4 separate regions of the Homo sapiens genome follow, and regions 2, 3 and 4 are each linked to region 1. Evidence: promoter capture Hi-C in 16 types of primary human blood cells and fetal thymus (Javierre and others, 2016). All regions are on one chromosome and are shown on one strand. The core of a region is centred on a gene start or on the middle of the fragment in contact, and the rest is flanking DNA. Distances in the headings are between cores, read along the strand shown. Region 1 holds the start of ROS1 (ROS proto-oncogene 1, receptor tyrosine kinase). Region 2 has its middle 29 kb from the start of GOPC. Region 3 has its middle 5.8 kb from the start of GOPC. Region 4 overlaps GOPC (golgi associated PDZ and coiled-coil motif containing).

Region 1 (6,708 bases), core at 2,572-5,071:
AACATATAGAAGCAATGGACAAGTTCCTAGATACATATAACCTGCCAAAATTGAACCAGGAAGAAATCCAAAACCTGAGCAGACCAATAACAAGTAATGAGATTGAAGCTGTAATAAAAGTCTCCCAGTAAAGAAAAGCCTGAGACCTAATAGCTTCACTGCTGAATTCTAGCAAATATTTAAAGAAAAACTAATACGAATCCTACTCAACTTATTCTGAAAAACAGAGAAGGAGGGAATACTTCCAAACTCATTCTATGAGGCCAGTACTTCCCTGATACTGAAACCAGATAAAGACACACCAAAAAAGAAAACTACAGGCCAATCTTTGATACATATTGATGCAAAAGTCCACAACTAAATACTAGCAAATTGAATTCAACAATACATTAGAAAGATCATTCATCATGACCAAGTGGGATTTATCCCTGGGATGGAAGGATGATTCAACATATACAAATCAATCAGTGTGCTACATCATATCAAAAGAATGAAGGATCAAAAGCATATGATCATTTTAATTGATGCTGAAAAAGCATTTGGTAAAATTCAACATCCTTTTATGATAAAAACCCTAAAAAAAAAAACTGGGGATAGAAGGAACATACCTGAACATAATAAAAGCCATATATAACCTACCCACAGCTAGTATTATACTGAATGGGGAAAAACTGAAAGCCTTTCCTCTAAGGTCTGGAACATGACAAAGATGCCCACTTCACCACTGTTATTCAACACAGTACTGGACATCCCAGCTAGAGCAATCAGACAAGAGAAAGATATTAAGGGCATCCAAATTGTAAAGGAGGAAGTCAAATCATCCTTGTTTGCAGATGACATATCTCACATGCTGAGAAACCTGGAGACTCCACAGGAAAACTAGCAGAACTGATAAACAAATTTAGTAATTCAGTAGTAGCATTTCTGTATGTCAAGAGTGAACAATCTGAAAAAGAAATCAAGAAAGTAATTCCATTTACAATAGCTACAAATAAAATTAAGTATCTAGGAATTAACCAAAGAAGTGAAAGATCTCTGTAATGAAAACTATAAAACACTGATTAAAGACATTGATTAGGACACACAAAAAATGGAAAAACATTCCATGTTCATTAATTGGAAAAGTCAATATTGTTAAAATGTCCATACTCCCCAAAGCAATCTACAGATTCAATGCAATCCCTATAAAAATACCAATGACATTCTTCACAGAAATAGAAAAAAACAATCCTAAGATTTATATTGAACCACAAGAGACCAAGAATAGCCAAAGCTATCCTAAGCAAAAGAACAAAACTGGAGGAATTACATTACCTGACTTCAAATTATACTACAGAGCTATAGTAACCAAAACAGCATGCTACTGGCATAAAAATAGACACACAGATCAGTGAAACAGACTAGGGAATCCAGAAAGAAATCCACACACCTACAGTAAACTCATTTTTGACAAAGATGCCAAGAACATACACTGGGGAAAAGACAGTCTCTTCAATAAATGGTGTGGGGAAAACTGGATATACATATATAAAGGAATAAAACTAGACCCCTATCTCTCTCCATATACAAAATTCAAATCAAAATGGACTAAAGACTTAAATCTAAGACCTCAAACCATGAAACTACTACAAAAAACATTGGGGAAATCTCCAGGACATTGGTTGGGGTAAAAATTTCTTGAGCAATACCCAACAAGCACAGGCAACCAAAGCAAAAATGGACAAACGAGATCACATCAAGTTAAAAATCTTCTTTACAGCAAAGGATACAATTAACAAAGTTAAGAGAAAACCCACAGAATGGGAGAAAATATTTGCAAACTACCCATCAGACAAGGGATTAATAACCAGAATAAATAAAAAGCTCAAACAACTCTATAGAAAAAAAATCAAATAATCCAATCAAAGGATGGGCAAAAGATTTGAATAGACATTTCTCAAAAGACATACGAATGACAAACAGGCATATGAAAAGGTGTTTAACATCATTAATCATCAGAAAAATGCAAATCAAAACTACAATGGGATATCATCTTACCCAGTTAAAATGGCTTATGTCCAAAAGACAGGCTATAACAAATGCTGGTGGCAATGTGGAGAAAAGGAAACCCTTGTATATTTTTGATGAGAATGTAAATCAATACAACCACTATGGAGAACAGTTTGGAAGTTCCTCAAAAAACTAAAAATTGAGCTACCATATGATCTAGAATTCTACTGCTGGGTATATGCCTAAAAGAAAGAAAATCAGTATATCAAAGAAATATCTGCATGTGAATGTTTATTGCAGCACTGTTTACAATAGCTAAGATTTGGAAGCAACCTAAGTATGCATCAACAGATGAATGGGTAAAGAAAATGTGGTACATATACACAATGGAGAACTATTCAGCCATATTCAGTCACGTCCAACAACATGGATGGAACTGGAGATTATTACGTTAAGTGAATTGAGCTAGGCACAGAAAGGCAAGCATTGCATGTTTTCACTTATTTATGGGATCTAGAAATCAAAACAATTGAATTCATGGACAAAGAGAGTATAAGGATGGTTGCCAGAGGCTGGGAAGGGTGGTGGTGGGTGGGGTGGGGGATGGGAGATGGGGACAGTTAATGGGTACAAAAAATGTAGAAAGAATAAATAAGACCTACTATTTGATAGCACAACAGGGTGACTACAGTCAATAATAACTGTACATATTAAAATGACTTAGAACATACTTGGATTGTTTGCAACTCAGTGGATAAATGCTTGAGGGGATGGACACCCCATTCTTCATGATGTGCTCATTTCACATGGCATGTCTGTTTCAAAACATCTCCTGTACCCCATAAATACATACACCTACTATGTACCCACAAAAATTAAAAAACAAACAAACAAAAATCCAATCAAAAGACGTTCAGCTCAAAACAAAACCTCATGCATGTGTTACTCATAGGGAGAACCTTATATCATTAAGAAAAGGTTAAGTTACATTTAGTATAATTTATTTAAGAAAACAAGGAGGTTGGCCTGTTGTACCGCGGTGGCTCACGCCTGTAATCCTAGCACTTTTGGAGGCCGAGGTGGGCGGATCACGAGGTCAAGAGATCGAGACCACTCTGGGCAACATGGTGAAACCCCATCTCTACTAAAAATACAAAAATTAGCTGGGCATGGTGGCGGGCGTCTGTAGTCTCAGCTACTCGGGAGGCTGAGGCAGGAGAATCGCTTGAACCTGGGAGGCGGAGGTTGCAGTGAGCTGGGATCATGCCACTGCACTGTAGCCTGGGCGACAGACAGAAATTCAGTCTCAAAGAAAGAGAGAGAGAGAGAGAGAGGAAGGAAGGCAGGCAGGAAGGAAGCTTGTACAATGTTTCCTTCTCAAAGCAGACACTTGAACATATCTTAGGTTTCTGGTAACTAGTTTCAGCTGTCTCGATAGACCTGATAAGTCAGTATTTTAGTTAATATGTAGTAAAGTTCTGAGAGTACTCTAACCAACTTCCTTGTTTTTAACTCTCTCCCAGGGTATTTGTCTATTAATTTCAGCTTTGTTTGCTCTTAAATTTAAAAATATGTATTTGGCTTCTGAGTTCTGTTTTCTCTCTCAGTTGCATTGCTTGATTTGGGTGCCTCTATTTTTCCAATAATTCTTTATTATAATAGTGCTACTGTTTGCTAAAGCATACGTGGTCAAAACCCAATTCCCTGCAGAGCTGAAAAGAGCTCAGAGAAGTAAGGTGGTGGACGACCCACTGAAATGTTCCAGTTTCAGACTGCATGTGTCACACCCTTGCTGAAATACAATTCGTTTTCTTTAATTTCCATGTGAAGTGCACTTCTAAGAACTAACCTTTAGTCACTGGGTGACTTTATGGGAGTAAAAGGAAGCTGTTATGAAATAGCTCTTATGGAACTGTTACAAGCTTTCAAGCATTCAAAGGTCTAAATGAAAAAGGCTAAGTATTATTTCAAAAGGCAAGTATATCCTAATATAGCAAAACAAACAAAGCAAAATCCATCAGCTACTCCTCCAATTGAAGTGATGAAGCCCAAATAATTCATATAGCAAAATGGAGAAAATTAGACCGGCCATCTAAAAATCTGCCATTGGTGAAGTGATGAAGAACATTTACTGTCTTATTCCGAAGCTTGTCAATTTTGCAACTCTTGGCTGCCTATGGATTTCTGTGGTGCAGTGTACAGTTTTAAATAGCTGCCTAAAGTCGTGTGTAACTAATCTGGTAAGTCTCACAATCTAATATTTGTCTTTGCAGGAACTAGAACATGTAGCATTCAGCTTGTTATAACTGATAGAATTGTTTTCTCTTTATGAGGAGTTTTCTTATGAGAAGTGGTGGCAACAAGGCAAGATAGATTATTTTTTCTTAAATAAGTTAGGAGCCCTTATAATTGCAGAAGATAAAGCAGGCTATTTTATTTCTTTAGGGTATGTGGTCATATATTTTTTGGGCTAGAGGACTGGGTAAAGGAGGTTTAAATGGAATCAATTTTGCCAATTTTGCACACTTAAAAACTTTCTATTTAAACTTATTTATTACAAAGTCATTAGTAGTTGTCTTGAAACCTGAAATCGGTTTGGCCACAGGATAATGCCTGCTAATTCCAGCTGTGTAGGGAGCTGGATGAAAAAGGAAGCAGATACAGTTGCCATGTAAAATAATATTTTAAAGCAATAATTATTTGTACATTTCTTTATTTCTGTTTGTGCATTTATTATTTTAGTTAGTGAGTTTTTTATATGGAAATTCATGCTTTCATTCTCATTTCTGGGTGTCATCCCTTCTCTAACTATTGTACCATCTCTTTTCAGTTGTAATTTAGTTGTGCTTAAAACAGTCACTGAATTAACTTTAAAAACCAAGTACTCTATAGACAGAGAAAATGCACTCTTCCTGTCTAAAGACAAATAAAATATCATGATAGTTTGCATATGACCCTATCTATAGCCATACTTTTAAACATAATGCAAGTACTAAATATAGTATTCATTATATTATTCTAAAGTATTGGAGATAGAATTATGTGGCAGATTAAAAAGAAACTTGCACTTATACACTTTTGATTTAAACTGTAGTTTAAAACACTACTTAGGTTTACCATGGTTAGTAGCATTTTTTTAAAAGTTTAGTATTTTATATAAATCTTTGCCGAAGACTTCATTGCCTTTAATATAGAATTGCATGCTTTAGTTTTTTATATTTGTAACCCAAACTTAAAAATGGAAGAATGGAACTACTAAATGTTTCAACTACTGAATGGAAAACTAAATGTTCTAAAAAAGATTTTAACTTTTTTCTAATTATAATAAGAGTATACATTTTAAATAAAATATTTATAACATAGAGAACTACAGAAGAATAAAAAACTTCTAATTCTAGCCCTAGTAATCTTTTGATTGAATTTTCTTTTAGTATTTTTCCTCATATATATATATGTATACATATATATCTATAATTTACACCCAGCTATGCAACCAGCTTTTTCATTACATTGTATTGTGAGTTTTCCCCTAGACCCTGAGATTTTTTTAGAAACAGAATCTTTATTATCTTTAGAGTATTCCATTATATGAATGTACCACCATAATTTATTTGTTAATTTCCCTGCTACTGAAACTGATTTTAGTTGTTTCCAATATTGCAGTCTCCATTTTATTTTACTGTCGTTTTATTTATTCTTATCTTTTTGTGTGGGCTCCTTGCTTCCAGGGTTTGGCAGTAGGAATAGACAGTTTGTTCCTTTGTTGAGTTGCCTTCCGTTCACCACCTACAGAGAATGGCACAGCTGATGTGTGGCAACAGCAAGAGAGACACGGTCTGCCAATTTGACCAGTGAAAGTACTACATGTTCCCACATAGGGCCTGGAGGGACAAAAGTGAAGTGAATGTACAATTGAATGTAACCATGGTTCACAGGAGAGGATATACAAAGTGCTCAAGTTTATTATATTTTCTGCATCATTTTTAAAAACATGGACATTTACTCTGAAGGTCATCTATAATTTTATTGGGTGATTCTTGATATTGAGAAATGTTTTCTTAAAAAAAAAAAGTCACCACAAGAATGTCTTGTCCAAAAATAAAATGTTAGAATTGTGGGCCAAATTGCACGAAGCAGAGTTCTATGCTTGAGCATTGGTATTTTACATTACTTTTATCTTACGTTAACAGAGATCTGCATGTACTAGTTGAAAGTATTAACTGAAAAGTTTTTTTGAATTCTAGAAGCCATGTGCTGCAGAAAACAACAAACAATTAATGCTCTTCAGAACTCTAGTATTGTGAGATCCTTTATGATAAAGAAAAAAGAATTCACGGTTGAATCATTTGTGGAAGTGTATTTTGCTATGCCCTCTTTTTGTAGATTCACAGGGCACAATAACATGTTAAAAGCTTTGTTTAATCATAATTTTCCCATCTTTAGCAACAAAACCCTTTTTTAATGTTTCCATAAGTTATTGGGGGAACAGGTGCTATTTGGTTACATGAGTAAATTCTTTAGTGGTGATCTGTGAGATTTTGGTGCACCCATCAGCCATGTATACACTACACCATATTTGTAGTCTTTTATCCCTCACCCTGCTCCCACTCTTTCCCCTAAGTCCCCAAAGCCCATTGTATCATTTTTATGCCTTTGCATTCTCATAGTTTTGCTCCCACTTATCAGTGAGAACATACGATGTTTGGTTTTCCATTCCTG
Region 2 (6,708 bases), core at 2,597-5,096, 210 kb before region 1:
CGCTACTTTTATGAGCTGTAACACTCACTGCGAAGGTCTGCAGCTTCACTCTTGAAGTCAGCAAGACCACGAACCCACAAGAAGGAAGAAACTCCGGACACATCTGAACATCTGAAGGAACAAACTCCAGACGCACCATCTTTAAGAGCTGTAACGCTCACTGTGAGGGTCTGCGGCTTTATTCTTGAAGCCAGCGAGACCAAGAACTCACTGGAAGGAACCAGTTCTGGTCACATTGTCCCATAGACAAGATAGATAAAGTTAGTGCAGTAGTGAGTTTGAGGGCTGGAGATTCCACACCTCTGTTTAAAACTTGTATCCCTGAATCCTTGTGTAGCCTTGATCAGATAATTCACGTTTGCTCTAAGTCTCTTGCTTATATAATGTGCTGAATTGTCCAAATCTTCAGAAAATTTTTATGGTAGCTACAATAAATGAAAACACTCACTCACCTTAGGGGTATGGACAACAGCAGATTCTGCTCCAGCGCCAGGTTGGAGAGCTGAGAACACCTCTGCAGGGCTCCAGCTTCGAAGAAACTCGCATTGTTGTTGTCCAGAATCAAATGTTTCAAGTCTTGGAGGTCCTGGAAGTCTTGTGCTGTTACTCTCTGAATCAGATTATTGCTACAATCAAGTTTTTGTAGCTTTACTGGTAGTCTGAAGGGCAATATTTGGAGCTGGTTTTGGGACAGCTCAAGAGCAGTTAAATTGGTAAGGAACTGTGCCCCATTGATGGAAGAGAGTAAGTTTTCTGACAGGTAAAGATGGGAAAGATTCTCCAAGTGTCTTGTGTCTCAAAACCTTACTATTCTGAGGTGGTTTCTTTCCATCTTTAAAGATAGCAAGGATTTGGGTAGATTGATAGGAACTTTAGTCAGAAAGTTACCACTGAAACTGAGAAATTGCAAAGACTATAGAAGAGTGAAGAAGCTATTGTATAAGATGTAGCTTATTATTCTCCAGGCTCATATGTGTCAGATGGGGAAGTATCAGGGGTCCAGCTATGGCCTCCACGTTGTTACCATCCAACATCAAACTTTGCAAACTGACAAGGGAGGAGAAAGTGCTGGGAGAGAGGGAAGAGATCAGGTTGTTTTTAAGTTTGAGGAATTTTAATTTCTTAAGTCCTTCAAAATCTGATCCATGTAGGACATTTATTGAGTTATCATTTAGTTTTAACACTTCAAGACTGGCTGGGAGAGCACTAGGGACTCAACTTATTTTTCCAGAGTTCTAAGGTCTTCAAAGTACTCAGAGTTTTGAGGGTGTCATTTTCTACTGACTCTGTTCCACTGGCCAGCAGAATAGAATCTTCTAAAGCCTACATTCAGGTGAAGTCAGACAGCTACAAAAAATGTGGAGGCAGGGAAGGGGAAGAAAAAGCAATAAATGAATATTGTTTAAGAAATACCAGGTACACTGTCATTACAATACTAATAATACTTCAGATTTTCCTTCAGATTCTATTTTAAATTATATCTTGGAAAACGGTTGAAACTCAGATCCTGAATATTTTTATTTATGATTGATAACATCAGTGTAAGGTATGAAAAATATTCTAAGCACTTTCACACATCATTGATAGAGACATATTATTGGCCAACTTTTACTGCATATTCTCTGACCCAGCAAATTTACTTATAGGCAGAGATACTTAACAAATTGCAAAATGATTCATGCACTAGGATGTTCTTTGTTGTATCATCTCATATTAGCCATAAATTGAAACAATCTGGAAATCTTTCACCAAATTGTTAGTAGTTTCTAAATCTAGAGGGTAAGATTACAAAGGATTTTCACTAGCTACATTTTGCATTGTTTAACATTATGAATCACACGTTTTAAAAAGGCATTAAAAATTACAAAAATGTAAGTGTCCCAGTCTGTTATCACTAGGATGCACTTAACTGAAAACACTTTCAACTATATTGTATTTTGGAAAATGAGCCTACCTGTTTTCTATACCCAATTTTCACTTCACCAATGAAAAAACTTCATAAAGAGACAAATGTATACATGTTATCTCCCTCCGTCTCTGCAGAGCAAAGAGTTCATTCATGCATATATTCCAGACCTAATGCCACCCTTCCTCTAGAATTTAGATATTTCCCAAAACTGATATACTTTCTTCGTGTTTTGTAAATTCTCCTGTCTCTCTACATGCCTGTCAACCTCTGAGCTTAATACCCATGTCTTTTTCTGAATGATGTAATGATCTTTATTTGGTGCTACGAGTAAGGTTATGTTTAAGCAGAAAAAGGAATTGTTCCATGTTTTCTTCGGGTTGATAAATCTTCAAAAAATTTTCAATCTGCCTTAGAATTCAATGAAGCTGCAATTTTCAGTATACAATTTCACGTGTCTTACTATCCACAGTTTTTAAATATTTGACTTAATTATGCAGTTGAGCACTTTTATAATACCAGTACATACCAGTACATGATTAACACCTTCAAAGTGAGTTTATTTTGTATCATATATTTATTATAGGTACTTATATTCTTGGAGGATATGTGATGTGAATTATCGTGTATTTTTAAACATCTCTAATATGTTACTCCATTAGGAGACTCTCCAGTTAAAATTTCCATAAATGAATATTTTTAATCATAATGGTTTCGGCAGTTGCCTTGGGTTACATATTGCTGCTAACATTTTATATTTTCTTAATGATTTATCAGTTATATTGAATAGTCCTAGTCCCAATAATGATAGAGATTTTATTCTTGCATTAATTGAGTATCTAAGAGTGCCACGTGCTTTTTTATATATCACCAATCCCCTAATAACCCAGCAACTTTACTATTATCAACACTGGCTTCTAGATGAGGAGACTAGGAGAACTAGAATGTGAAAGAATTCAGAATTTCAGCAAGGTCTATTGAACTGCAAACCCCTTTCTTCCTTAGCTACACCATTTTCTAAAGCATTTTCTATTGCATTTGGCCTGTAATTAATGTTTTTCAAAAGAGGCTCAAGATCTAGACACAAATCACAGAGCTTTAAAAAAGCAGAGATTTTAGGGATTAACTAATCTAAATCTCCCATTTCAGGAATAAAGAATTTCAGGCCCAAGAAGTTAAATAACCTGCTGAAGACTCAGTGTTCTTTACACTTCATTCTGAAATGCCTTTTTGTAGGCTTATCTTTTATATAAAGTCAGAAATGTCTCTAGACATATATCTTTATGTCTTGGACTGTTGAGATCCGCCAAAAAGAACTGGGTATTATATTTCAACTTATATCTGAGTGACAATAAACAAAAAATGATTACTAACTATGCAGTAAGTCTCAGAGATGACATGGATCAGAATGGGCAATTTATTTTGGGAATGGACAAGGGATGGTGTCAAAGCTTCAATTTGTCTTGATTTCTATTTATGAAGTATACAGACTGAGCTAAATAGACTTCATATTCTTAAATCACTATTATTAAGCATAGAAAGCATTTTCTTCTTTTTTTTTTTGGTCAGGGTCAATAGAGATTACATTTAATTATTAATTAAAATGGCTACAATTTTAGAAATATTTACTATATTTAATTTTTACAAAGCCCTATGTATAAGCATAATTATTCCATTTTCAGAGAGGGAAACTAAGGCTCAAGAAAGTGGAATAACCTGTCCAAGTATATCCTTTTCTAGTGGAAAAGTTGGGCTACTAACCCAGGTTTATCTTACCCCAGTGCATATATTTTTAGCCTTACAGCTATAACATCCTTTAGCTGAAGAAAATAGAATTATGGTGCCACATAACAATGAGGAAGACTCCTGCTGACTTTCAACTTTTCAGTTGGGTTTGCAGAGCTGACAAAGGGAAAAAAATTATGCCAGACCCATTTTTCCATTTCCATGGCTTAAGCAGGGCTTCACACAAGATATGTGGAAAGAGATGCTTTTGCCCTAGAGCTAACCTTGGGGCTACTGGCAGCTTTTCCAATATTGCTTAAAAAGCAAGGCCAGTAAAATGAAGTAGAGCACAGGATAGCTCCTGCTAGCTTCTCCAGGAAAGGCTTTGTTTCTGGTTTCAATCCTAGGCAGACCCTGCTCCAAGTAGTAAAGGGAACACACCCTTTTCTGGCTCCTGATAGATCCAATGTACAACGAAACTGACATACACACAAAGCGATGGTTTCAGACCTGTGTGAAACAAGCCAGGAATGAGTTTGTAAAACAATGTTGGATTTTTTTCCTGATCATCAAACAACATTTTTTCTCTACAAACAATTTTTAAATTCTGGAAAATGTAGAGAGAATATAAAATAACCCATTATCCCCCCATTCAGTTTATGTATTGTTTATGTATTTCTTAGGAAGAATTTGAAGAAGCTTCTTGTCTTCCACAAAAGATGTAAAGTACTATCATTTTAACTGACTGCTACCATAACTACATTCCCATTTGTCTTCTACCTCTGAAGAGAATATATCACTTTGGCTTATCCATTTGAATGGCAATAGTGAAGTAAACTTAATGATTTTTTACACATGTGGACACAAAGTACGAACCAAAACTACAATCCTCTAAATAGAAATGACTTGGGTCACCTAGCATATTGTCCATTTGGTATCACATGTAATCAGCTATTCGTTGTGTCTTTCACTCAACACAGTTAAGCAGTTCATCATGGCTTGAGACTGAAGTCCAAGTTAGTGAATAGCAACAGAACAGGACAGAGGGGAACAAAAGAATAAAGCTGAATTCCTTTCTTATGCCATACCCAAAAATTAACTCAAAATGGATCATAGACCTAAATGTACAAACTAAAACTGTAAAAATCTTAGAATAAAATATAGGCATTACATTTTCATGAACTTGGATTAGGTAAAGCTGGCTTAGATATGACACCAAATGCATGAGTGACAAAAGAAAAATAGATAAATTAAGTCAGGTGTAATAGCTCAAGCCTGTAATCCCAGCACTCTGGAGGCCAAGGCAGGTAAAGAGCAGCTAGTAAAGAAAGAGCAGCTGAATATATGGGGGTGCAGAAAGTTAGAGAGCAAGGTCTGGAGAGAAGTGTGAAGGATAGAATCAAGGGCCTTGAATACAAGGAGAGACATGTCCTCTCCGGAGAAAAGAGTTTGCAAAAGTGGATGGAGACAAATTTGTACACAGTGAGCAGGGACTGAGGGAGATCAAGTTTTGTCATGATTTGTCAATAAAATGGGAGGCCAGCTATTCATTGAGAATGAGGATGGCAGGAATTGAGTATGCAACCCAACACTCTACCGAAGTTTTGGAAGATATTGAATGATTCTGTAAATTCAAACCCAATAAATAGAATGTACATTGTATTTACCAAATGCAAGTGAGATATGGTCACTTAAAACCTATGCAAGTGAGACATGGTCACTTAAGACCTAAGTATTTTTAAAAGAGAAGTATCATTGGTCAGAACTTTCATCAACAAAAAGAGCTTTCCTTTTCCTTAACAAAACAATCCTGTCTTTTATTACGTTTCTGTTGTGAACAGTCCTTCCAAGAAATAATTACCTAGCTTAAAGTCAGGGAAGTGGCAATGCTGCTATTCAGTGAAACTAAACCAATGACAAATTGACTCATCCAATAACTGAATTTAATAAGGGGCATAATTTTATCTTATTGGCTACAAAGTACCATTGTATAATCATTACTAGGATTAGTTCACCTTCTGCTCAATAAGCATGTCAAGTCCTCAGAGCAAATATTTAAGTAGCTTACCCTTTAACCAGGTGTCTTGCTTGAACATTTACACTTAATGGTGTCAGACTTGCTATCTGGTGTTAGACACTACAGGGTTAGAAGAGGAAAGCAAACAGATGGAGACAAGACAACTGTGTTTATTGAGCCAGGATCTAAATACCATGCCACATATTCAAAACTCTATGTGTTTATGGGACACTCATATGAACATTTCTTAACCAAATTAAAGGGATGGTGTCTCTGTTTGAAGGTAAGGTACACTCACCTGCTGCCTCTCTGCACCTGGCTCACAGAGAGGCATTTCTTTGTCTTAGGATTTGGATCTTTGAGGGAGAAGCAGTGAATAGTAAAGGGAAAATTAGAGAGCCATAGAATTTTCCATCTGGAAGGGGCCTTCCATCTGGAAGGGGCCTACAAATATTAAGGCAGCTGTTATTTTCTTCTGAAGTTTAAGCTGTCTAGCTTCAGTTTGCAGGGCTTTATGAAAGCACAGCTTAGTTGTCAGTGACTCTGAATTAGGAAAAATGGGAAAAAAGGTAAAAAAATGAAAACATTATTTTAAAGTCTTCTAGCCAAGAAAAATTAGAATTTGATCCAAACTGTAGAAAATAATAAAAATTGAAAAGCATTAGGCAAGACTAGAATCTAACAACAGGTGTACTACAGTTTTTGGAACCTAATTTTTCTCTCTCCCGTTTCCCATTTTTACTAAAGAGAAACCATAGTAGGACTAATTTGCTTTATTATATTTGGCCTAATTATTTGTATACAGTGCAGCAAGAATAATTAATTTGTACATAACTTTTTTTTCTTTTGAAATGCAGTCTCACACTGTCACCCAGGCTGGAGTGCAGTGGTGTGATCTTGGCTCACCACAGCCTCCATTTCCTGGGTTCAAGTGATTCTCCTGCCTCAGCTTCCTAAGTAGCTGGGATTACACCTGGCTAATTTTTTTTTGTATTTTTAGTAAAGACAGGGTTTCACCATGTTGGCCAGGCTGGTGTTAAACTCCTGACCTCAAGTGATC
Region 3 (6,708 bases), core at 2,130-4,629, 180 kb before region 1:
TCTAGCAATCAAAGTAATGCTCAATGAAAGAAAATTTGGAAAAAAAAAAAAAAAAAAAAAAAAAAAAACAGCAAGGAGGGAAGAATTGTCACCTTGAGTCACATCCCAAAGTCAAACATCACATTTCCAGTTTCTTCTTTTCTATGCTTAGGCTTTGAAAAGACAAAGAGTAATACTTATTGCACATGTTTCTGCATTACTATAAAGGTAAATACATATCCAGTTACTTGAAATAAAATGCCTGCAAAATCCTGTCCTCTCATCTGCCATTGATAACAGCAAATTTTTCTGTTATGCAGCACAGTGATGAGTTCCATTCTTCATCCTTTGTTGGTGACCATAGGATTCCTTTTTCTTTGAGCCTTGAAATTACACTATATAATTTTTTTCTTCTTTTTCATGGCATTTCTATACCTTTACTGCAATTCTAGCATTATTTATAATATTTTACACTGTGAAGTTTTATTTTCTCATGTTTGTAAACATACTCATAACTTTACATTTTATTCTTTTCACTATTATATTTTTGCATATTATTTCAGTTTCTATAAATAAAAACTTAAATGTCTAAATAATAGTCCATCAAAAGTACTGTCTATAATTTAACTACTTTCTAACTAGTGGAGTTTTAAGTTGTTTTTTGATTTTAGCATTATAAATGTAAATAACTTTGATCATAAAAAGCTTCAGAATGTTTTGAAGAATAAAAGATCTGTCTTTTCCCAGAACATACCTATTTATTTAGGTTAAGCTGAAAAGTCAATTTTTTTTTTTTTGATAGCAGGCAAAGTCTTGTTGATACTTACAGACTGCAGAGAAAATATAAAACAAAGGTACAGCCTTTATGCTTGAAGGACATACATGTTTTGTTGTTCCTCTTCTAGAGATGGCAAGCCTGTCTCATCTTTATTATGCTAGGAGGAATACAGGAGCTGCCACCATTGCTCAGCTTCTAGTTCACTTTCTGCCGACTTTTGGAGTTTTCACACATTGACTAAGGACCACAAGTATAAAGCTCTCGTGTTTTTATCTCTGGAGCTTAAGGCTAAGTGTGAAGCATGCAGTACTTTTTTCCAAAGATTTTAACAACACCTTACATGATTGTTATTACTTGACTCCTTTGGGTAAGAGGGAACCAAGTGAAGGAACAAGGGTGCCTCTCAAGTATGGCAACTCAACGACACACCCAGCAACTGTGTTCAAAATAGAGCTCAGAATCTAGCTTTAGTCTTTCAACACAAGAAAGATAGCAATCTCAAGAAATATGCTTTGTATTTGAATTTGGATTGGAGTAGATTGTTTGTTCAGATTCTCTAGGCTGGATACTCCCTCTCATTTTATTTTTTTTAGTTTTCTTTTTTTGAGATGGAGTCTCACTCTATTTGCCCAGACTGGAGTGCAGTGACACAATCTTGGCTCACTGCAACCTCTGCCTCCCTGGTTCAAGCCATTCTCATGCTTCAGCCTCCCAAGTAGCTGGGATATCCCTCTCTTGCTTTCTTTATCCTTATTTTCCCTCTCTCTCTGGAAACTTTTCTATTTTGTTTTATTTGAGATAGACTCTGTGTTACCCAGGCTGCAATGCAGTGATGTAATCTTGTCTCACTGCAACCTCCACCTCCCCAACTTCACTCCTTCAGAGCAACTGAGACTACAGGGGTGCCACCATGTTCTCCACTGGAAACATTATTTTTGATTATCATCAAAATACGGGGGAGAGGGGCAGTGTTATCGGCCTCTAGTGGGTAATGGCCAGGGATGCTGCTTCACTGTGGGGGCTACAATGCACAGGATAGCCCCCACAATGAAGAATTATGGAGTCCAAACTGTCCATAGTGCCGTCATTAAAAATGCTGCTGTACATAACAAATGTGTACCTCTATGAGATGGATACTGGCCTTCCCTGATTTATTAAAAGCAAAGGGCAAGAAATAATTGGCCTAAACTCTGAAGTTACCTAATATCTTGCATGTAGTATTTTGAGAGTAATGACCATAGAAGGCATATCATACCAGGATAAATAAATATGCGGAAACTTCTGTTGTAGTTAGGAGGAGAATTTGGCAGCGCCAGGTACTCACGCCTGTAATCCCAGCACTTGGGGAGGCCGAGGCAGGCAGATTACCTGCCATCAGGATTTTGAGACCAGTCTGGCCAACATGGCGAAGCCCTGTCTCTGCTAAAAATACAATTAGCCGAGCCTGGTGGCGCACACCTGTAATCCCAGCTACTCAGGAGGCTGAGGCAAGGAGAATCGCTTGAACCCGGGAGGCAGAAGTTGCAGTGAGTCGAGATTGTGCCACTACACTCCAGCCTGGGTGACACAGTGAGACTCAGTCTCAAAAAAAAAAAAAAAAAAAAAGGAGTATTTAACTTTGTTTTTGATGTGTGGATCATTTTTATTACTTTCATAGGATGTCAGCACTGGAAGGAACTTTAGAGATAATCTAATCAACACCACATTTTTCCATTGTACACAGGAAACTGAATTCCAAAAAGGAAACGAACTAACTCAAATTTTCCCTGATCTGGAATTACAAGCATCAGCTCATTATTCCTGCAATAAAACCGATTGGCCAGGAGCTAAACAGAAGACTTCTAAAAAATGAAAACCCCTGGCCGGGCGCGGTGGCTCACGCCTGTAATCCCAGCACTTTGGGACGCCGAGGCAGGCGGATCACGAGGTCAGGAGATCGAGACCATCCCGGCTAACACTGTGAAACCCCGTCTCTACTAAAAATGCGAAAAATTAGCCGGGCGTGTTGGCGGGCGCCTGTAGTCCCAGCTACTCGGGAGGCTGAGGCAGGAGAATGGCGTGAACCCGGGAGGCGGAGCTTGCAGTGAGCCGAGATGGCGCCACTGCACTCCAGCCTGGAGGACAGTGAGACTCCGTCTCAAAAAAAAAAAAAAAAAAAAAAAAAAAAAAATTGAAAACCCCTGTCTCTGATAAAAGACATTTTAAAGATTAAACAAATTATGTATATGATTCTTTTTAAATATATTTTCTCCTTCTGAAGCACGTTGCATAAAGAGCATACGTTGAAAGTAACACAGAAAATTAAATTCTTCTACTACTTAACTTCTCTAAGCCTCATGTTTGTTCTTCTACAAGATAAAATGGGGGAAATAATTTCCACTTTAGAGAAAGGAATAGATGAAGCAAACTAAAGTTTATCAAGTTGATGGGCAAAAAGTAGGATCTCAACAAATGATAGTTGGCGTATCAGTTTAAGTTATGGATTGCAAGCAACAGAAACAAATTCTGGCCAATTAAAGCAGAAAAAGAATTACTGAAAGAAAATTGGGTAGCACAATGAAGTATAAGAATGCCTGGAGAATGTGAATTGGAAATGGCCAAGAATAAAGGAAGGCTGCATAGTCAGAATCACAAGCAAAATTGCAAAATTGCACCTCAGTTGAGTGAGGACACCATTCCTGCTGCCACTACAGAACACGAGTGCACCAGCCTCTACCACAAACCTGAATCTAGCACAACACCAACACTAGCATGGCTGCTGCTGAAACTGCTATCTTCACTCCCTCTCCAATCCCTACCAAAAGGAATGCTCCCAATCCTGCCTCACTATCTCCATGTTAAAAATTTCAGGTGGATAATTCTAGTTAGCTGAGTCTAGGTCACAGCCCTGTGCTCTACCTGTCACAGAGTCAGGAAAGTGATCATCTGACATTTTCAGCTTATTATGGAAGAAGAATTCTCTCTCTCACCAAGTAACATAAAATGGGAAATTCCCTAGAGGAAGGGAGCTCAAATATGGAGAGTATCCCACATGTAGTGACAAATTTTCACTATAGAAGTCTTTTCATCCTAACTCCCTCTGCTCACCATGGCCACAAAAGCCAAACAAATTCTGAGTGAGTTACAATCATCTGGGGACAAAACAAATACTATCTCCAGCAATTGTTGTGATAGAGCTTTTTGTGTAATAGTTTCACTACACTTTTCTGACTTTTAGTTTCTTTTTCTTTTTCCTTTTTTTTTTCTTTTTTTTGAGACGGAGTTTCGCTCTCATTGCCCAGGCTGGAGTGCAATGGTGCAATCTCGGCTCCCTGCAACCTCTGCCTCCCAGGTTCAAGTGATTCTCATGCCTCAGCCTCCTGAGTAGCTGGGATTACAGGTGAGTGCCACCACGCCTGGCTCACTTTTGTATTTTTAGTAGAGACGGGGTTTCACCACGTTGCCTAGGGTGGTCTCGAACTCCTGACCTCAGGTGATCTGCCTGCCTCGACCTCCCAAAGTGCTGGGATTACAGGCATGAGCCATGGCACCCAGCTGAAATTTCTAATTAGATAACTTATACTTTTCAGTCAAAACTCGAAAAAATAATTATTGTTGAAGGGTATTTGGAATACAACTGTTTCGGAGGCCCTTAGTAGACTAATTTATAAAAAAAAAAACAGAAGGTGATGAAGGAAAGTCTATGTTTGATCCATACAGTCTGACACTTGAGAAATAAACAGTGACTTCACAGTGGACAAAAGAAGAAGAAAACATGAGTAGGAAACTCTGATACTACTGTTGATAAATGGTGGTTTCAGACAAGGCTGAAGCAAACCTGGAGCTGTGGGAAGTGGTAGATGAAGAATGTACATCGGGGAAAAGGGGAAAAGCAGTTATAGTCTGTCTTTGATAGTGTAAAATTTATTATGTTTTGGTTTTAGGTTGAATATACTATACAAAACATAGTATCTAGTAAATTTTAACAATGGAATAAGCAAAAGAATCCTTGAAGCCTAAATTATAATGGATTTATTAGTCAAATAAGCCAGATCATTGTAAAATAAAACTTTAGGTTTGGAAAAGAAAGACTAATATGTAATTTATAGATATCCTAATCTCTGAGGCAATATAAAAATATATTAATATTTAGCTATGCTCTCTAGCATGTATCACAAGTATGTCTTGAAAAGTGAAGTGACTGTTAGTTTCCTAGGTAGAATGATCGAATACCTTAATTATTGAAGTTATCACACAAATAGTTATAGCATTCCTACCACATTCTAGGTCCTGTGTTAGGACCTGGGATACAAAGATAAGTAAGATACAGTTATTGTTGCCAAGGAACTCACAGTCTAACAAGCTCCAAAATAATATGATAAATGCGGTAAAAGATATTTACAGGAAACTAATTGGGGATGGAGCCCATAGCATCATATGAGGAGAAAGAAGGAAGGCTTCCTGGAAGAGGAGGTGTCTGAGCTAATTCTAAATCACTGTACCAAAATTCTCAAGTTTTAAAAACAAGAGAGCAAACAGTTGTCCTGTTTTTTGTTTGTTTTTGAGACATGATCTCATTATGTTGCCCAGGAGGGTCTCAAACTCCTAGATTCAAGAAATCCTCCCACCTCAGCCTCTCAAGTAGTTGTGACTACAGGTGCACACCGCCACACCCAGATCCCTTTGTTTATATAAGGGAAATAATCAGGAGAATAAGGCTAATAAATCCCTTTGGATTCCTAAACTTACTTCTTTAGCATATGTATCTGAAATTTTCAAAACTGTTGGTAATATGAATAATAAATTCAATAAATATAAATAATATGTATGAATACAACACTCCAAACCTTTCCTACATTGATTAAATAAAATGCTAGTGGATTTTTACTTTCTTCATTCACCATACATACAACTTGTTATAGCCACTAACAGCATATACTTAACCCCTTCTCTTGGTAGGGTTACTGGAAACTAAATGAAACACGTGAAGTTAGGTACAGGGCCTGGAACACAGTAGAGTTCAATAAGTGATAATCTCCCTCTCCAGTCCAAGGTGGGTCTTATACACCCTTTTATTACAGTGCCCTTGCAATCAATGATGCTCCATAAATATTTAAACTATACACTGACCCCGCAGTTAATTACCAGTACCTATCAAAGAAACCCTTAGCATCATCTCTCTTTCCCCAATTTCCTCAGTCTCCAACCAATTTATTTTTAGTAATGCCTTGTGACAAAACTCTGTAGGGATAAGTTCCTAAAACAAGAGTGTCACATTTAAGTTATATTTTTTAAAAATCACATAAGCATGATTCATAAAACAGTTATTGGAAGCTTCTGCCAATCCAACTGCAAATAGAAGTATCAAGACTTTAATATCTGTGGAAAAACAAATCGCTCAAGTATTGACATTACATGCAATCTCCAATTCCAGAGTAGGTAAGGATAAGGCAGTAAGTGTAGATAGAGTACACCGACAACAGATGGCAGCACTTGAACATCAAGCCCCGATGATAAGCCCTCCTTTTCACATCCATGTTCTGCTGTGACTTGCAGATTTGCATAACCTCAATCCAGGTGGGCAAAAGATTATGTCTACATACTACAGTAATGAGAAGGGACAACATGACATGAAACTCGTCTGAGACACAGATGAGTCTATGACTTGTTGAAGTTGTAAAGGTAATAGATACGAAGCTGGGTTCTGCAATCTCGAAAATGGGGGTACCCACAAACCATTAGAGCACTGGAAACATATAAACACTTAAAATGTCACTCAGCTGCACCCACACAATGTAGCTGGAAGTTGATTTTTTAAAGAAATGAAATTTATACTCAAGTGTGGTTCATATAAATTAGAGTTACAAGTAATAGAAAATGAGTTATTACAATTTTTGGTAATGGTTCTTATATGTTAATAGATTTGTATATGGTTTCTAACTAGGAAGAAATTAAAAAGAACTTTTGGAACT
Region 4 (6,708 bases), core at 3,155-5,654, 130 kb before region 1:
ACAGTAATTGTTTTGGTTGGGTTTTCATGTCAGTTTATGTTTGACTAAAGCTCTCTTCATATGCAGGTTTATAAATTTGTTAGGTCTGTTGTCCCATGATTAAACATGGAGTGCCTCCTCTCTGATTTAATATTCTGCAGGTCATTGTAACCTGCTAGGCAAAGTCACAACATTGCATTAAAGAGGTGATAGCTTTGCTAATATCACTGTTTTAAAGGACGTACAGTTAAAGGAATATTAAGTGGGAGAAAGCCTACAAGGCTTTTAGAATATTATCAGTATCTTCATTTCTGGTATTCAGATGTTATGTGATAAAACACATTTTTTTTGGCTTTCCCAGATACACTATATATTTGTTCAAGGGTAAATCTATAAAATGTATATACTTTATTTTGTGGTTTTGCTATTTATAAATTTAATGTTTTAACTGTTGCTCATTTATGGTTTGTTTTGGGTGGTGGTGTTCATCTGTATATCACCATGTTAATTTGTAATGGAAGTGCACTTCGTAGTGTATATTGTTACTGACATTAAAATACTTTATAGCATTGTCTCTGAGCAAAAGCTAGTATTTAATTGTACAAATGAATAAGCAAGTTACATGTTATTGTTTGCTCTTGACAGGGTAGGCCTCTTAAAAGAAAAAAAACAACTTGTTTTTTCTTTATGAATCCCCTATGCCAAACACATACCTTCCATGCATGACATGAGATCTGCAAACTGGATTTTAGCCACCGTATTTATTTAGTCAAAAAAATTGTCCATTGTAGCAGACCCGAAAACCTTTTTGCTGTGACATGAAACCATGTTATTCTTATCTTCTTAAAACACAGCCTGGGATGGAATGGCCATGGCATTTTTTTCAGAGAACATCCTTTATCTGCTATGACTGAATCCTTAGGAAATGTAAGCTATAACCCTTTGATTTTCAAGAACTACCGAATAAGTGTATGAAGAGGTGGTTTTTTAAAACTTCAAGTTGGAATTTTTATGAGGTCACTGTGTAATTTGAAGAATTGTGTGAGATTGTCATGATATAAATTCCTTTTAAGGACTGATAAATAGAATGAAAAGTTTCCAGGTAGTTTAAAACTCCACAGGTCAGTTTCCTTTTCATTCCTGCTTCACTGTGGTTTATAAGCCTACGGGAGAGCACCGTTGCTCAGATGCTACTGTGAGCTTCCTGTCCGGTGTTAGAAAGTAACTAGTTAAAAGTTCATTTTAGAATGTATGGTTTTTGGGGATGAACTAAGAATTAGTTATTAGTTCCAAAGGACTGAGAACCAATTTTAATATTTTCACATTTATAGGAAAGAAATTCATATGTCCCTGAAACTTCTAGGACAAAACCAAACAAGTAAGGAGGGAACTGTTGCAAAGCCATTTCATCGAGAAGGGGACAGAAGGAGAAATACACACATGTATACACAAACAGAATGGTTGAGAAAACGTTTTAATAAAATGTGAGGGTTGTATGTGTGCGTGTATATATTTACACTTAACCTCTAAAATTCTCTTCTACAGTATCTCTGTTATGAATATGATGGAAAAGCAACATTTTGGTGGTGAGACTATTGTTAAAATAAATTTGAGAAAGACGAAAATTTTGTGAGTCTTGATAATTACAAGTCAACAGCTATCGAAAGTTAGCACAGCTTGTCTGTGGTGCTGTTTTTTTCCCCACTGCAGTGGACTTATGCTGTTTTCATGTTTAGAAACAAAAAGGTTTCATGTGATTCATGTGTAAGATGCACAGTATTTGACATCCTGATTATGTAATCCCTATTCCATCTATCCAGTCTTACACTTATGGTTGGCCTCAAATCTATTGCATTTATGATAATGTATTATATCTAGTTGAGTTTAATATTTTTTTATTAGCCTGTAAATAAAGATGGCATCTTCTACATTAAAATGATATTGATCTCATTTTTTTAAATAAACATTTTGTTTCCTTGACGTTAAATATTTTGGCTTGTTATTTATTTCTAGTAGTTCTATTATTTGTACCAACATGTCATAAAGTCTGTGCAAAGGACTTGGCTTAATTTTGTGTTATAAATATTGCCAGCTGTTGTTATCTATGAGGAAAACATTGATGAAAGTTAGAAAATCAATCCTGTTTTTAAGATACTATTTAAAAGGGTATTCTTCCATTTTGACATCTAAGTATATATGATTTAGAAGTTCCTAAGTTATATGTAAAATAATTTTTGGAAAATACTTGTAAATGAATTACTTGAGTTATGAACATTTAGAAATGTTATGAACATTAGAAATACATTTTTGTCACTGACTAACCTTGATTTAGTGCTAATACATATATGCTTTCCGTGTGTTGATTTAAGCTCCCAATTCACCAAGTGATTTGAAAAGAAGTCTTTTCCCCAGAATACAACCCCATAGGATATTGGTCAATTTATGAATTTTTTTTTGGTCAGTTTATGAAATTTTAAAGAGAACTTGTATTTTCATTGTTAATCAGTATTTTATTTTAGGTGGTTTTATAACTAACCTTAAAGAAACACTTTAAAAGTATTGCAAATTACCGTGCACTGTTGGTGCTGAATATTTGTTCAATAATGAACCTTTTTCAGGTGTGATTTGAGAGCTATAATCACCACGGCAGCAGCCATGAGAATGCATCTGTCAGTTCTCGTGCAGGAGGGAGCATAGCTTACTGAAGGTCCAGCTGCTGTGGTCTGAAATCCATCCCTGTGTACATGGTGAGGCTATGCTCCTCCATGCTGCTGCCAGTCAGTGACTGATTATGACAGGGATATTATATGATGACTCCTCAACTTTAGCTGGAGCACTCCACGATGGTCTTGCCAAACTCCCTTAGGATTACATTGTAGTCCAAGTTGCTTTCACCCAACCTTCCTTCCTCCTTTCATTCACCTTGGGTCTTAACTCCATTGTGATCTCATTGCCTTCCAGCCTCCAATCAACTCCAGCTTCCTACCTATTTTTCCTCACTGGCATTGCCGTTAATAAATCTGTTGCACAGCAGATCCCTTTTTGGTGTTGGCGTCTGCTTCTTAGAGAGGCTAGATTAACACAAGTGACCATGAGTGAGATTTGAGGAAACAGGTAATAAGATGGGCATTAGGAACCCACCCAAAGGGTAAAGACAGTGACATCTGGTTGGTGAGTATAGTTTATCTAGTCGTTGGCACAAAATCATGGCTCAGTGGCTATTTCACAAATGGTGTGCAGAAAAGAGTTAACAGAACAGGCCTGAACCTGTTGTCTTTAGGTCTGCTTGCAAGGTTGGACCTTGGCTAGCGTCCAGCAATTTGGATATCAGGAGTATTCCCATTATCCCCTTGCTGGTAAGTGCGGTTTACTGTGCCTGAAGTGTTTGTACAAACAGTAGGATTTTTGTTGAACACTTACTTTCCTCTGGGAATCTAGAATTTTGGTACATGCTAGGCAGAGGGTACCTACACTGACTTCCCTAAAACCTTGACTCCTAGGTTCAGTCAGGCAAGCTTCCTAGGTGGACAACACTTGATGTATTGTTACACATTATTGCTAGAGGAATTAAGCATGTCCTGTGTGACTCCATTGGGAAATGAATCTTGGAGCTTGTACCTGATTTTCTTGGGACTGTGCCCATATGCCTTTTCCCTTTCCTCATTTTGCTTTATATTCTCTGTAATAAATCATAATTGTGAATAAAGCTTTGCTTAGTCTGATGAGTCCTAGCAAACCACTCAACTTGGGGAGAGTTTTGGAGACTTGGGACTGAAATTGGAAAACATTTTATTTAAATTGGAAAAAATTATTAAATTGGAAAAAATCCAGCTTATGGAGAGGGGAACTCTCCAGGAGGGTCAGTGATGCAGACATTTGAAAAATGTGGGAGAACAACATCTACAAGAATAGCAGAGTTGGCCGGTTACAGCAGGATTGTATTAATGACCTACAGAAATGGATGGAGGGGGGCAGCTCCCAAGGAGGCCTTACCTCCTACAATGGAGGGATTGAAACAGCTGAGCTTCAGGCTGAACACCTAAGTGTTAAGAGTTGCTGAGTTTCAGACACTTGAATGTTCAGCGAAACCTCTTCTATTTTGTGAAAGTCAAGGCCCTGGTGAGGAAAACCTAGAACCATGGGGAGATCTGGATGGCTGCACCTGAGAGACTTTGCAATCTCTACTGGACTGTTGGTCTTAAGAAGAAGCCCACGCTTCTCTAATAAGACCTTGTACCTTGTCTATGCTCCAAGATGTTACAGAGGCTGCTACTAACCACATCCCTAAGGCAATACCTGCCCCTACCTAGTCTGCTGCCAGGCCTGTAACTAGGGCTAAATCCTAGTAAAGCCAGGATGGGAGATGTGCTGGGCCTGATAAAGGAGAAAAGAAACTACACAAAAAGTGTAAGAATTAGCTAGCACATTCTGGCAAAAACCAAAGGAGTACTCCTAGAACTGAATTTTATATTTTTTATTTTTATTTTTTTTGAGACGGAGTTTCACTCTTGTTGCCCAGGCTGGAGTGCAATGGTGCAATCTTGGCTCACTGCAACTTCCATCTCCTGGGTTTAAGTGATTCCTCTGCCTCAGCCTCACAAGTAGCTGGGATTACAGGTGCGTGCCACCACGCCTGGCTAATTTTTGTATTTTTAGTAGAGACGGGGTTTCACCATGTTGGCCAGGCTGGTCTTGAACTTTCTGACCTCAGGTGATCCATCCGCCTCCCAAAGTGCTGGGATTAGACTGGCCACCGTGCCCAGTCTGGAATTGACTTTTGAGAGTGCTTGATCAGGGTGTAAACTTATTAAAAGAAAGAACTGAAATTAGAAAACATTTTATTTAAATTGGAAAAAATCCAGCAATATGTTGTTTAAAAGGAACATACCTAAAACATAAGGACATAAAAAATTTGAAAGTGAAAGGAGAAAGAATATACACTGGGCATATTTTCTCCAAAAGAACATGGATACAGTTATATTTTTTAAAAACAGACTTTAAGAAAAAAACCATTAGGGATAAAGGTTACTTAAATTCTTAAAGAACCAATTTACTACAATGTTAAATCTATCATCATAGTGGGAGATTGCAACAAAACTTTCAGGCAAATTAGGAAAGAAGGAAGATTTGAACAACAAGCTTGATTTAAAGTTTTAAGAGGGCATTTGGTTGTAAAAGAAATACCTCTGGCGTCTAAGTAAGAAGATAAAAAGTGAGCAAAAAACAGAGATTTTTCAAAAGAAAACATACAAGTGGATGATAAACATGAAAAAAAAAGTTCAACATCACTAATCAGAGAAATGCAAATTAAAACCACAATGAGATATCATCTTACACCAATCAGAATGGCCATTATTAAAAAGTCAAGAAACAGATGTTGGGGAGGCTACAGAGTAAAGGGAGCACTTACACCGTTGGTGGGAATGTAAATTAGTACAACCTTTACGGAAAACAGTATAGAGATTTCTCAAAGAACTAAAAATAGAACTACCATTTGATCCAGCAACCCCACTACTGGGCATATACCCAAAGAAAGAAAGAAATTATATTGAAAAGATACTGGCACTCGTATGTTTATCACAGCACTATTCACAATAGCAAAGATATGTATGGAATCAACCTAAGTGTCCATCAATGGATGACTGGATAAAGAAAATGTGGTAAATATATACCATTGAATACTATTCAGCCATGAAAAAAGGAATGAAATCATGTCTTGCAGCAACATGGATGGAACTGAAGACCATTATCTTAAGTGAACTAACTCAGAAACAAAGTTTACTACCACATGTTCTCACTTATAAGTGGGAGCTAAATAAAGGGTACACATGGACATATATAGAGTGGAATAATAGACGTTGGAGACTACAGAAGATAGGAAGGTGGGAGGTGGGTGAGGGTTGAAAAATTACCTATTGGGTATAATGTTCAGTATTCAGGTGATGGTTACACTAAAAGCCCAAACTCCACCACTACGCAATATATGCATGTACAAAACCTGCACTTCTACCCCCTAAACCTATAAAGATAAAAATATATTTTAAAAAAGGAAGATAGGTAATGGACTATAACAAGGAAAATTAGATAAAATATAGGCCGACACTAAAACTTGGAGTCTATGCGTTGGAAAGGTAGAATTTGCAATTTGGTAAATTGCCAGCAGGGGGCAGCAGATTCCAGATGCATTATTAATTTTACTTTTATTAGCGGTGTAAGGCTTTTTGAAACTCATCAAATAAAATACTCCTGTGAAGATCAATAAATTGAAGGCTGATTTTTCCAGGGTCACACAGCTAGTTAAGTGTCTGAGCCAAGACTCAAATCCCTCTCTTAATTCTACTTTAATAGGCCACAAAGAAGGAAAGGGGAAATATAGATAAAATTGTCAGCTTTCAGTCCTCCTATTCCAACAATTATTTTTATTTTTTCCATGCTTGCCAACTGCAGTAGAATTTTTCTAAAGTTTTCTTAAAAGGTGCACGGTTTGATGGACCCTTGGCTTGATACAGTTTTGATTTCTAAAAATGATGATTGTGCTGGGTTTGAATTTCACAAGAAACTGTTTGGCTGTAGTGGAGTGACTATAGAATGAGAGAACTCCTAGAGTTACATAGTAGAATTCTAGATCGTCAAGACTATAGCATTCCCCTGCCCCCACCAAATACGGAATAAGTTATTTCTTGCTTGTGTGCATACTGTCCCCATATTCTTTAGGAAGCAATACTGCAA

What was found. The method cuts DNA at HindIII sites, captures the fragments that hold promoters and counts their contacts. A CHiCAGO score of 5 or more calls a contact.
Region 2: a contact is called between a fragment that was not itself captured here and the fragment with the promoter of ROS1 in region 1, in 1 of 17 cell types (endothelial precursors). The highest score is 6.5, in endothelial precursors.
Region 3: a contact is called between a fragment that was not itself captured here and the fragment with the promoter of ROS1 in region 1, in 1 of 17 cell types (endothelial precursors). The highest score is 5.4, in endothelial precursors.
Region 4: a fragment that was not itself captured here is called in contact with the fragment with the promoter of ROS1 in region 1 in 3 of 17 cell types (activated CD4 T cells, naive CD4 T cells and total CD8 T cells); the score reaches 5.5 in activated CD4 T cells.

The regions. Positions count from the first base shown.
Region 1 is chr6:117,423,055-117,429,762 of GRCh38, reverse strand. It overlaps ROS1 (ROS proto-oncogene 1, receptor tyrosine kinase), which reads left to right and starts at 3,821. Exons shown (of 44, transcript NM_001378902.1): 1 at 3,821-4,229. The coding sequence starts at 4,107. The HindIII fragment of the contact is 564 bases long and covers 3,350-3,913 here.
Region 2 is chr6:117,628,351-117,635,058 of GRCh38, reverse strand. It overlaps the pseudogene NEPNP. Among named protein-coding and RNA genes, the nearest start is that of GOPC, 29 kb to the right of the region's middle. The HindIII fragment of the contact is 973 bases long and covers 3,360-4,332 here.
Region 3 is chr6:117,604,919-117,611,626 of GRCh38, reverse strand. It overlaps the pseudogene NEPNP. Among named protein-coding and RNA genes, the nearest start is that of GOPC, 5.8 kb to the right of the region's middle. The HindIII fragment of the contact is 5,386 bases long and covers 687-6,072 here.
Region 4 is chr6:117,555,527-117,562,234 of GRCh38, reverse strand. It overlaps GOPC (golgi associated PDZ and coiled-coil motif containing), which reads left to right. Exons shown (of 9, transcript NM_020399.4): 9 at 1-1,966. It also overlaps a transcript of DCBLD1 not described here. Among named protein-coding and RNA genes, the nearest start is that of GOPC, 44 kb to the left of the region's middle. RefSeq lists an enhancer at 3,908-3,957. The HindIII fragment of the contact is 1,432 bases long and covers 3,689-5,120 here.